Linked DNA regions of Homo sapiens: region 1 is linked to region 2. Evidence: promoter capture Hi-C in human tissues and cell types (Jung and others, 2019). All regions are on one chromosome and are shown on one strand. Each heading gives the region's core, a stretch centred on a gene start or on the middle of the fragment in contact. The rest is flanking DNA. Distances are from core to core; before and after follow the strand shown.

Region 1 (5,183 bases), core at 1,779-4,278, 130 kb before region 2:
GTCTCTTGTGAATTTTGACTTAACTAAATTATATAAAATACTTTTTTAAAAGGCTGAGAAAAAATTATAGCTAATGATGACAAGGCAAAGGAAATACAATTCATGTATAACCTGTATGCAGAAAACTAAGCTGAAAAAGAAACAAATAGAAGAGACCAAAACAGATTAAGAAAATGTTCCTGAAGTGAAAGATGGATCTAGACTGAAAAGGTGCACTGGGTGCCAGGGCAGCCTGGCTGAGAATGGGCAACAAGAAGACATATCCTAGCATAATTCAGACTTGAAGATAAGGGCTCTTTGGACGGCCAGGCCAAAAACAAAAAACCTGGCCCCAGGTTTTCCATAACATTAGTCCCAGAAAAGAACAGAACAATAACTACGAGATACATGGCACAGGGGTGAGGGAAGGACTTTATTATCCAGCCACGCTATCATTCAGATATAAAAGGTACAAGTACAATCTGTATTGAACATAGAAGAAAGCAGGGAAAATTCTCTTAGGACCTCCCTGAGGAAACTACTATAAGATGAACTCACCAAGTGATGGCTGAAGAAACCATGGCCAAAGGAAAACCAGTAGACACTGAATTTCACGTAGAACCAAGACTAACACAAAGCAGGGGACTAACAGCGACAGAGCAGAGCGTGTGCCCTGATGGTGCAGAAGGGATACAGCTGACGAAACATGGGAAAAGAAAGGGGAAGGATGATGAGGGAGTAAGTTCATTCATTCCCACCTACATCAGCTGAAGCAATCAGAAAACATCAGCCACTGATAAATTGAGTAATATTACAAAGGCAAATCCTAAAAAATTTCCTCAACAAATTATTAAGAGGTGGAAGAACAGTGAGGAAGAGGAGGAAGTACACTAAATTTTCCCTCACAGTAGGAAACTAATGGATGTTGCCAAAATAGTGTTAATAAAACTATTTTTAAAAGTACAAAAATACAAACTTTCCTAAATATCAGGAGCGTATACAAAATACAGGCCAAATCGCAAAAAGATTTCAGCAAAACAGAATGATAGAATGTTGACCAAACATCTGTCATATCGATCAATGCAAATGTGCTAAACTAACCTATTTAAAAGAATTTCATTGGCTCAAAAAGGAAAGCCCACACAAAACATTTTCACAGAGAAAGCTGTCACTAAGCCACCTCCCAGTAAAGCAGCAGTCTTTCCAGAGATTGTTCCAAACTTTTACACCACAGGTGATTCCAGTGTCTCCAGAACACTGAAAAAAGAAAACTTCTAAACAATTGCACTGAATCCTTACCCTAATTAATAGTTTACTATACATAAAAGTCTGTGTTAAAATTCATTTTTCCTCTGAATTTCTGAGAAGCTGCAATACTCCCTTCCAGCATCAGACGCATTCATATCACTTTTTGAGGATGCACTTTAAGCAAAATAAAAAAAGAATCCAAGAAAGATGAAGACATTATATTAAATTTTTAAAAAGAAGACAGAAAAACCCAGAAAGGCAGTGAAAGGAGTTCTGGGGCAAAAGATGTGCAGCAGGCCAGGCACAGCCAGGAGTTATAGGGCTAAAGAATATCTTCAGAGTGAAAAGAAAAAAAAAGTATATATATATATATAAAAAGAGTATCTTCACAGAGAGCGGATCTCATTCATACAAACTGTCATTAAAAATCTCAAGATGTTCTTAGTAAGACAGAGGCATAGGTTTCTTCTGGCAGAGAGACAGTAACTCTAACTCGGGGTGACGCTTTCCAAAAAATCCTGCTCCAAATGAGAAGCATACTAAAAGTGTGGCCATCTGTGAACAAGAGACTCCATGTATCTGACCCTGGTTGGTGAAATGATTGCATCTCCTTCTCTAAGGATTCAAACACATGACTTGATCCTGCAGCTATACAATACATTAATCTACTAAATGGCTTTCATTTCCTTACTATACACAATTATAGTTACAGGAAATAATCTACATACTACAAACATTATAAAAGTATACTAACACATACTTAAAATGTAGCTGAAAGGTAAGATGGAAATATACTAATTTCCTTATTATCAGTAGTATACAATCGAGATGCTATCTAAAGGTGACAGGGTAAGAAAGAAACTTGGGTATATTAAAACTTATTTATATTACATTAAAGCTGTAAATATAAGCAAAAGATCAAATACTCAACTAAAACTGAAGGTGAGAAAGAACAAAAGGAACTAGTGAGGTCTACTCAGTTCTTCCTCTTCTGTAGCAGGCAGACAAGGGATACTGCCTAAAATTGATAAATCAAGAGCTAGAGGAAGACATATTTTAATTTCAATTATAGTGGTAACTAATAATTAGAAACTATTAAACTAATATTAGAAATTTATTTAAAACGTCGTTACAGTCAAGTGCAGGACATGCACCTACAGTCCCAGCTACTTGGGAGGCTGAGGCAGGAGGACTGCTTGAGGCCAGGGGTTTAAGACTACAATGCAATATAATCACACCTGTGAATAACCACTGCACCCCAGAGGGGATACTAGAAATATTCAAATAATCTAAATGACAACAGAAAGAGAGGAACAAAAAATTCAAAAACAAAAGGACAAAAAGAAAACAATAGTAAAATGGCAGACCTACATACAACCATATCAATAATCACAGTAATATTGATCAAGTAAACACTTCAAACACAGATTATAATTATAAAAATTGACAGAAACAAAGCAAGTTCCAACTACATGATGTCTATAAGAGACATACTTATAAAGGCACAAAGACACTCAAAGTAAATGAATGAAGACAGACACACCATGCAAACAATAAGATCAAGAAGGCAGAGGTGATTCTATTAATATCATATAAAACTTCAAGAAAAAGAGTATTGCCAGTGATCAACAGGAACACTGAGTAAGAATAAAAGTAAAAATTCATCAGGAGAACACTTGACAGTCATAAATATGTAGGCTGCTAATAGCAGAGCTTCCAAATGCTTGAAGGAAATATTGACAATATTAAAGACAGACAGGAAAGTTCACAATTTCCACAACAGATTATCAAAGATCTTAACAACTCTCACCTTATACCTGATGGAAAAACTAACAAATATTACACCCAACAATTGCAGAATACACCTTATTTTCAAGTGTACATAGAATATTCATCAAGGTAGATACCATGCTGGACCACAAAACAAGCCTAAATAAATTTAAAAGGAAGGAAATCACACCTAGTATGTTCTCTGACCACAATGGAATTAAATTCAAAATAAATAATAAAGTACCTAAGAAACCATCAACTATTTGAAAATTAGAACACCTATACATAATCCATGCATCAAAGAAGTCAGAAGGGAAATTAGAATACACTTCAAGCCAAGTTATAATGAAAGTAAAACAAAATGTGAAAGGTGCAACTTTAAATGCTTATATTTAAAAAGAAAGAAAGGCCTAAAATCAATGACTGTTCTAGCAAAAGCACAAGGTACAACCAAAGTAAGTCTAAGGAACTAAAGAGCAGAAATCAATAAAGTAATAAAGAAAAGCCATAGAAACCATTAACAAATCCCGAAGTTGGTTCCTTAAAAAGACCAACAAGGCCAGGCACCGTGGCTCACGCCTGTAATCCCAGCACTTTGGGAGGCCAAGGCGGGTGGATCACGAGGTCAGGAGATCGAGACCATCCTGGCCAACATGGTGAAACCCCGTCTCTACTAAAATACAAAATATTAGCTGGGTGTGGTGGTGCACACCTGTAGTCCCAGCTACTCAGGAGGCTGAGGCAGTGGAATCACTTGAACCCAGGAGGTAGAGGTTGCAGTGAGCTAAGATCGCTCCACTGTACTCCAGCCTGGCGACAGAGCAAGATTCTGTCTCAAAAAAAAAAAAAAAAAAAAAAAAGACCAACAAAATTGACCAAACTTTGTCTACAATGATCAACAGGAAAAAAAGAAAATACAAATTATTAATATTAGAAACAAAGCAGGAATAATCTTACAGACCTTATAGACATTAAATAATAAGATAATATTATGAACTTCATGCCAACAAATTCAGCAATGTCAAGAAATAGAAACATTCCTTAAAAGATGTAACTTACAAAAACTAACACAGATGAAACAGAAAATATTAATAGCCTTATACTGAATAAAACTAAATAAGGCCAGGTGCAGTGACTTAACGCCTGTAGTCCCAGCACTTTGGGAGGCCTAGGTGGGCAGATCACTTGATCCCAGGAGTTTGAGACTAGCCTGGGCAGCATGGCAAAACATCATCTCTACAAAAAATACAAAAACTAGCCAGGTGTGGTGGCATGCACCTGTAGTCCCAGCTACTTGGGAGGCTGAGGTAGGAGGATCACTTAGCCTGGGAGGTCGAGGCTGCAGTGAGTCATAATTGTGCCACTACATTCCAGCCTGGGTGACACAGCAAGACCTTGTCTCAAAAAAAGCAAAAACAAAATGAAAAAAAAAAAAAAAACTAAATTTGTCAAAAACCATCCTACCAAAAAAAAAAAAAAAAATCAAAAACCAACTTCCAAGACCAAGATGGTTTTACTGGTGAATTCTCTCAAACTTTAAAGAAGAGATGACACCAATCTTATATGACTCTTTCAGAAAATAGAGGAGGGACAATTTTGAACTGTTTGAGTCCAGTACATCCTTAACACTGAACTCTGACAAAGACATTACCAAAAAAAGTTACAGAGCAATTATCCCTCATGAACATAGGTGCACACTTCTTAAAATGTTAGCAAATCAAATCCAGCAATATCTAAATTCCTGTCCAAGAAGAGTTTATCCCAATAATTAAAGGTTGATTTAACTTTAGAAATGTCAGTTTAATTTACCACATTAATGGAATAAAGGGGAAAACATAAATATATAAATAAGTTCAACTCTGTAACAAAAAGAAACAGCAAATATTTTTAAGTGGGTAAGCATGTGCAGAATGCTTACTTCACAAAGTAAGATATTTAAACACAGAAACAACACATGAAAAGTATTCAACAACCTTAGTCATCAAGGAAACAAACATTAAAACCACAATAGATACTAACACACACCAAAATGGATAAAACTAAAAAGAATGAGAACACAAAATGTTTGCAAGGATGCAGAGCAACTAGAACTCTCATACTTTATTGTAGCTGTATAAATTATATATTACCTTAGAAAGAGTCTGGCAGTTTCTTTTAAAACTGAGCAAGCACCGTACACTATGACA
Region 2 (5,589 bases), core at 3,090-5,589:
AATTTTGGGGGCCACAGCAGAATGCTGTGGTTCGAATGTGTCCCTTCCAAAATTCAGGTGTTGGCAATGTGATGGTATTAAGAGGTGGGGCCTTTAAGAGGCAATTAGGCCATCAAGATGCCTCCCTCATTAATGGGAGTAAAGCCCTTATAAAAGAGGCTTCATAAAGCGTTCTGCTCACTTGCTCTTTCACTCTCTCTTGCCCTTCAGCTTTCTGCCATGTGAGGACGCTACCAGAAGGCCCTCATCAGAAACTCAAACCTGCAAGAGCCTTGATCTTGGACTTCCCAGCCCCCAGAAGTATGAGAAAATAAATTTCCATTTTTATAAATTACCCGGTCTCAGGTACTTTGTTGTAGTGCCACAAAACAGACTAAGACATATCAATAGAAAGAAGAATATGAGTGTGTGTGGGTGCTAAGCAGCGAAGGAGTTGGATTTAATGGACATTGCATTTGTCTTGTTTTCATATTTCTCTATATAGGTACCTTCCTTTGAGGATTGCTACAGTCTTTTTCAAGTAATTATGGTGGAGCTGTCATTTACACCCTGCGTTTAGCCAAACCACTGGTTGGGCATGTGACTAAGTCAATTAGAATCTTTCTCACAGGAATTTATTTACCTATTTATTTTTGAGATGGAGTCTCACTCTGTCACCCAGGCTGGAATGCAGTGTTACAATCTTGGCTCACTGCAATCTCTGTCTCCTGAGTCCAAGTGATTCTCCTCCCTCAGCCTCCTGAGTAGCTGGGACTACAGGCATGGGACACCATGCCTGGCTAATTTTTGTGTTTTTAGTAGAGATGAGGTTTCACCATGTTGACCAGGCTGGTCTCAAACTCCACACCGCAGGTGATCCGCCTGTCTCGACCTCCCAAAGTGCTGGCATTACAGGCGTGAATCACTGTGCCCAACCCTCCCAGGAATTTAATTGTTATAGTGGCAGTGAATGCAATTGAAGTTGAATTATCACAAGAACAGTTCCCTGTAATCCACAGAACAATCATGAGATGTGGGAGGTTCTAATGGCAGTTAAAATTCGATTTTTCTGCATAAAAGAGAATATCCAGATAAATGTCTTGAAAAGGTTTCTCACCTGGAAGAGATGTCTAGATGCAGGTGGTTCAAGACTGATATGACCCCTTTACAACATCATTCTGCCTTCCCATCCTTAGTATGTGGGTCTGACTTTCAGGTTCCAAGTGTGAAAGAAAATAAAATCTTGGGACCCCAAACTCACTATGCCAAAGGAGATTTGAGCTTGGCAACTGAGTTGGGGCAATACTGCCTACCATTTTGTTTCCAAACAGATGGTTGTAATTTCACAATTCCATGCCAGAGCCTTATATATAAGTCAGATTCCCACAATAATAGAAGGCCATACACCTTCCCAGATGGCCTCCCTCACAAATTACAAAGAAATTCCCTGCAAGCCCCTAAATACATTTCTCCCTATAAACCAGCCCTAAAATCTGTTAAATCTCACAGTGACTGGTATGAGATGGTTTCTCATTGTTTTGATTTGCATTTTTTTGATGATTCGTGGTGTTGAGCATTTTTTCATACGTATGTTGGCCGCTTGTATGTGTTCCTTTGAGAAGTGTCTGTTAATGTCGTTTTCCATCAGTCAGAATGGCAATTAGTAAAAAGTCAAAAAACAACAGATGTTGGCGAGGCTTCAGAGAAAAGGGAATGCTTATACGTTGTTGGTGGAAATACAAACTAGTTCAGCCACTGTGGAAAGCAGTTTGGAGATTTCTCAAATAACTTAAAACAGAGCTACCATTCAACCCAGCAATCCCACTACCTGGTATATACCCAAATGAAAATAATTCATTCTATCAAATAGACACATATACCCATATGTTCATCACAGCACTATTCACTATAGCAAGGGCGTGGAATCAATCAAAGTGCCTGTCAACAGTGGATTGGATTTAAAAAATGTGGTACAGGCTGTTCTGCCTATGGAGTACATTTTTTTTTTATTCCTTCACTTTCTTAATAAACTTGCTTCCTTTTTTTTTCTTTTTTTTTTCTTTTTCAAGACAGAGTCTCCCTCTGTTGCCCAAGCTGGAGTGCAGTGGTATGATCTCAGCTCACTGCAGTCTCTGCCTCCCAGGTTCAAGTGATTCTCCTGCCTCAGCCTCCTGAGTAGCTGGAATTACAGGTGTGCACCACCATGCCCGGCTAATTTTTGTATTTTTAGTAGAGACGGGGTTGCACCATGTTGCCCTGGCTGGTCTCAAACTGTTGACCTGAGGTGATCTGCCCACCTTGGCCTCCCAAAGTTTTGGGATTACAGGTTTGAGCCACCTCACCTGGCCTATTATTCTTTAAACCATGTATATAAAACCAAGGTTAGGTATCTGAAATGGGAATATGAGGCAAAATAATTAATATGTATTGAATCAGACAACACATGTGATTTCTGCCCTTCTTTATTTATCGCCTTCATACTAAAGGACATTAGCCAGGTAATATCAATAACTATTTTCAAATGAGAGAAACAGAAACAATCATTTGAAATAAATTCAGCTACAATGCTTTTGTTTATTTACTGTACAAAATGATTAATGTTCACCAGTATTATTATTTCATTCTTTAGGATCATTTCTGTCTTCAAAAAGCAAATATTTATTTGAGGACTTACTAAATGCTCAAAATGCTGGAATACTTGAGGTTCTTATAGTCTGACCGACGAGAGAGATACCTTAATCATTAAAAATATGTATACCATTATACAATTGGTAAAAGTGGTTTGTGCATAGATCAAGAATGCATCATGGCTGCTAAGTCATGCCAAAGTCAATTGATTCTTCTTATTCCAATTCTACACCTGTAGGGTAATATACTGACAGTGGGGATGGGAAATACATGTAACTCAAATGGTATGTCAACAAATAATATTAATTAAGCAATCATCTCTCTCTCTCTCTCACACACACACACAGACAGCTACCGAGTTTGCAAAAACCGGATTTTGCAGAGCAATGGTCCTATCTATCTCATATTGTCTGAAATTCCTTTCTTTTTTTTTCTTTCTTTCTTTTTCTTTTCTTTTCTTTTTTCTTTTTTTTTTTTTTGAAACGGAGCCTCGCTCTCTCGCCCAGGCTGGAGTGCAGTGGCGCGATCTCGGCTCACTGCAAGCTCCGCCTCCCAGGTTCACGCCATTCTCCTGCCTCAGCCTCCCGAGTAGCTGGGACTACAGGTGCCCACCACCATGCCCGGCTAATTTTTTGTATTTTTAATAGAGACGGCGTTTCACCGTGTTAGCCATGATGGTCTCGATTTCCTGACCTCGTGATACACCCGCCTCGGACTCCCAAAGTGCTGGGATTACAGGCGTCAGCCACTGCGCTCGGCCTATTGTCTGAAATTTCTATCTAGAAATCTTTCCCCATAGTACTTAGAGGATTTTTATAGAGATCTTGAATTTTCTTTCAAAATAATTTTAAAATTAGACCAATTTAAAATCCCATCATGGTCATCTTGGCCTTATGGCTTCAAATAAAACTAAAGCAAGGAATTCAACATAAATACATATTTAGCTGTTGCTATGTTTGAAGCCTTGTGCTAAAGTATGGTACAAAGTTGATTCTGTCAGGGAGAAGCACAAGGAAAGGCACTTTTACAACGGCATGTTGGTCCAGTAAAAGTTCTGCAGCTACTCCTCTCTAATTTAAAAACATATATATATATATTATATATATATATATATATAGCTGCATTAGACACTTAGGTTTTGCAAAAGATGCCTTCATTTCTCATGATGGTATATACATACGTTCTGGATTACTTGTTACTTAAAAATACTGACTTTTGTCCCACGTGTTCCAATTTTAGGTTACATAAATGAGCACACTACTCCGGACCCACATCTCCTGTAATTCAGTGCCTAACTTTCTACCAACAAAGATCCGTGCCTTTCATCCTGAAGTGGGCATAACGGAAAGAGACGCAGAAACCTACGTGGGTTTAAATCCTAGAGGGCTTTGGTGAAAAGTCCCTAATCTCGGTTTTCCACGTCACTCAAATGCAGGGCCACATTAGATAGCCTTTTCAAGGTCCTTCGCATCTGCAGACTTCTGCGATTAAAACGCATCTCTTTTTGGAAGATAATTCACCTGAAGCTCCTCTGGGAAATTAGCTTGCTGAGGGCCAGACCAACAACCGGGTAGGAGCGAATCTGGTTTCTCTTTGAAAAGCCTTCCTAGGGTTAGCATCCAGGGCCAGCAACGGAGCGCGCCCCCGAACCACGTGTCTGCGCCAGCTGCCGGATTGGCTGAGCGCATTTTAGCGCTGCGGTCTAGACGCTCGCGGTCCCGCCCAGTTGCCAGAGGAGCCGGGACACCGAGGGAAGAGGCCGGAGGGAGATCGCGGAGGGGAGGGGGCGGGAGGGGGGTGGGGTATCCTGAGTCGTCCGTGGTCCGGAGTCTGGAAGGCCCTAGAGCGGCGCCAGTCGACCCGCCTCGCCACAACTTGCCCAGACCAGACACGTTTCATCCTGCGCCCTGCAAGAAGGAGCCGGCCTGCCTCTCTCCGCTTTGCTGCTCCTCGGCCTCCGCGGGCCCGGCCCGCGTCAGCAGCGACCCTGGGGTCTGGGTCCCCTGTGTCGCCCCCGCCCGCCTGCAGCGCCCGGCACCCGCCCAGGAGCGCGCAGCTGGGGTGAGCCGAGACCGGGGATGCGCCAGGCGCCCACAGGAGGTGGCTGACGGGGCATCCCGATACCCGCGAAGCCGGCCCTCCTGCCTCTCCAGGCTGCGAGCCGAGCCTCTGCAGATCCAGCTGGAGTAGCCGCCGCTGCCCCCACTGCCTGTTTGCCTTCCAAGGAAGGGCGCCGAGGTTCCCCTGGAACCCGCGTCTCTCGGCTTTTGTCTGCTGGTTCGGCTGCCCGGCGGTGCCATGCGCCTGGGACTTGAGGCGCCGCGCAAGGCTGGGGGCCCTGCCCGGGATGGGGGAGGGAGGGAACGGGAAAGCATGCCCCCTTCTTTCCTGTTCCGGCCATCTTGTGACCGAGATCCACGCAAGGGGAAAGGGGTGGTCAGCGGCACGACGCCCCACGATGGAGTGTGGCGGCCAACGGAGATGGGTACCTCGGGCCCGCAGGCCTCTGCGCCCAGATCTCAGCGGGGGCGCGCGGGCCACCCCCACGTTCAGCTCTGAAGCCCTTGGCCCAGATCATGGGTTAATCGTTCTAACAGGCCAGAGGCAGCAAAAATAGGAGGGATAAAGGGCCAGGAGCTGATGTTTCCTTAACTAAGCGCCTAAGTCATTCGATCGTTCTTCATTCACGTGTCCATTCAGCAAATTCTGAACGCCTTCTCCGTGCCTGTCCTCTGCTAGGTTCTAGGGACGTATACTTGAGCAAGAGAGACCACAGCTCTTGTTCCCGCTGATCCTGCAGCCCAGTGGATGGAGTCCAGAATCTACAGACCTGCCAGGTCGGTGTCTTGATGCTCTTAAACAGATGGAGGAAGCTAAGTCTTAGAGCTGACAATTTGTTCTAGATCAGGGAGCAAGTAAGTGACAGAATCAAACTTTGAAACTATTTATGTCTTTAGCACTTTTTATGCCTGGTTGCAGGGA

The links. Contacts are between HindIII fragments. The study calls those that stand out against the background at their distance.
Region 1: a fragment that was not itself captured here is called in contact with the fragment with the promoter of DZIP1 in region 2 in 1 of the 25 tissues and cell types used here (mesenchymal stem cells).

Annotation. Positions count from the first base shown.
Region 1 is chr13:95,772,406-95,777,588 of GRCh38, reverse strand. The region is part of intron 9 of DNAJC3 (DnaJ heat shock protein family (Hsp40) member C3); the gene reads right to left. Among named protein-coding and RNA genes, the nearest start is that of DNAJC3, 98 kb to the right of the region's middle. The HindIII fragment of the contact is 7,229 bases long and covers 1-5,183 here.
Region 2 is chr13:95,643,456-95,649,044 of GRCh38, reverse strand. DZIP1 (DAZ interacting zinc finger protein 1) reads left to right here and starts at 4,339. Exons shown (of 23, transcript NM_198968.4): 1 at 4,339-4,668; 2 at 5,347-5,444. LOC124903194 (a long non-coding RNA gene) reads left to right here. Exons shown (of 2, transcript XR_007063840.1): 2 at 211-334. RefSeq lists an enhancer at 4,127-4,176 and silencers at 4,267-4,376, 4,467-4,556, 4,617-4,726. The HindIII fragment of the contact is 16,516 bases long and covers 1-5,589 here.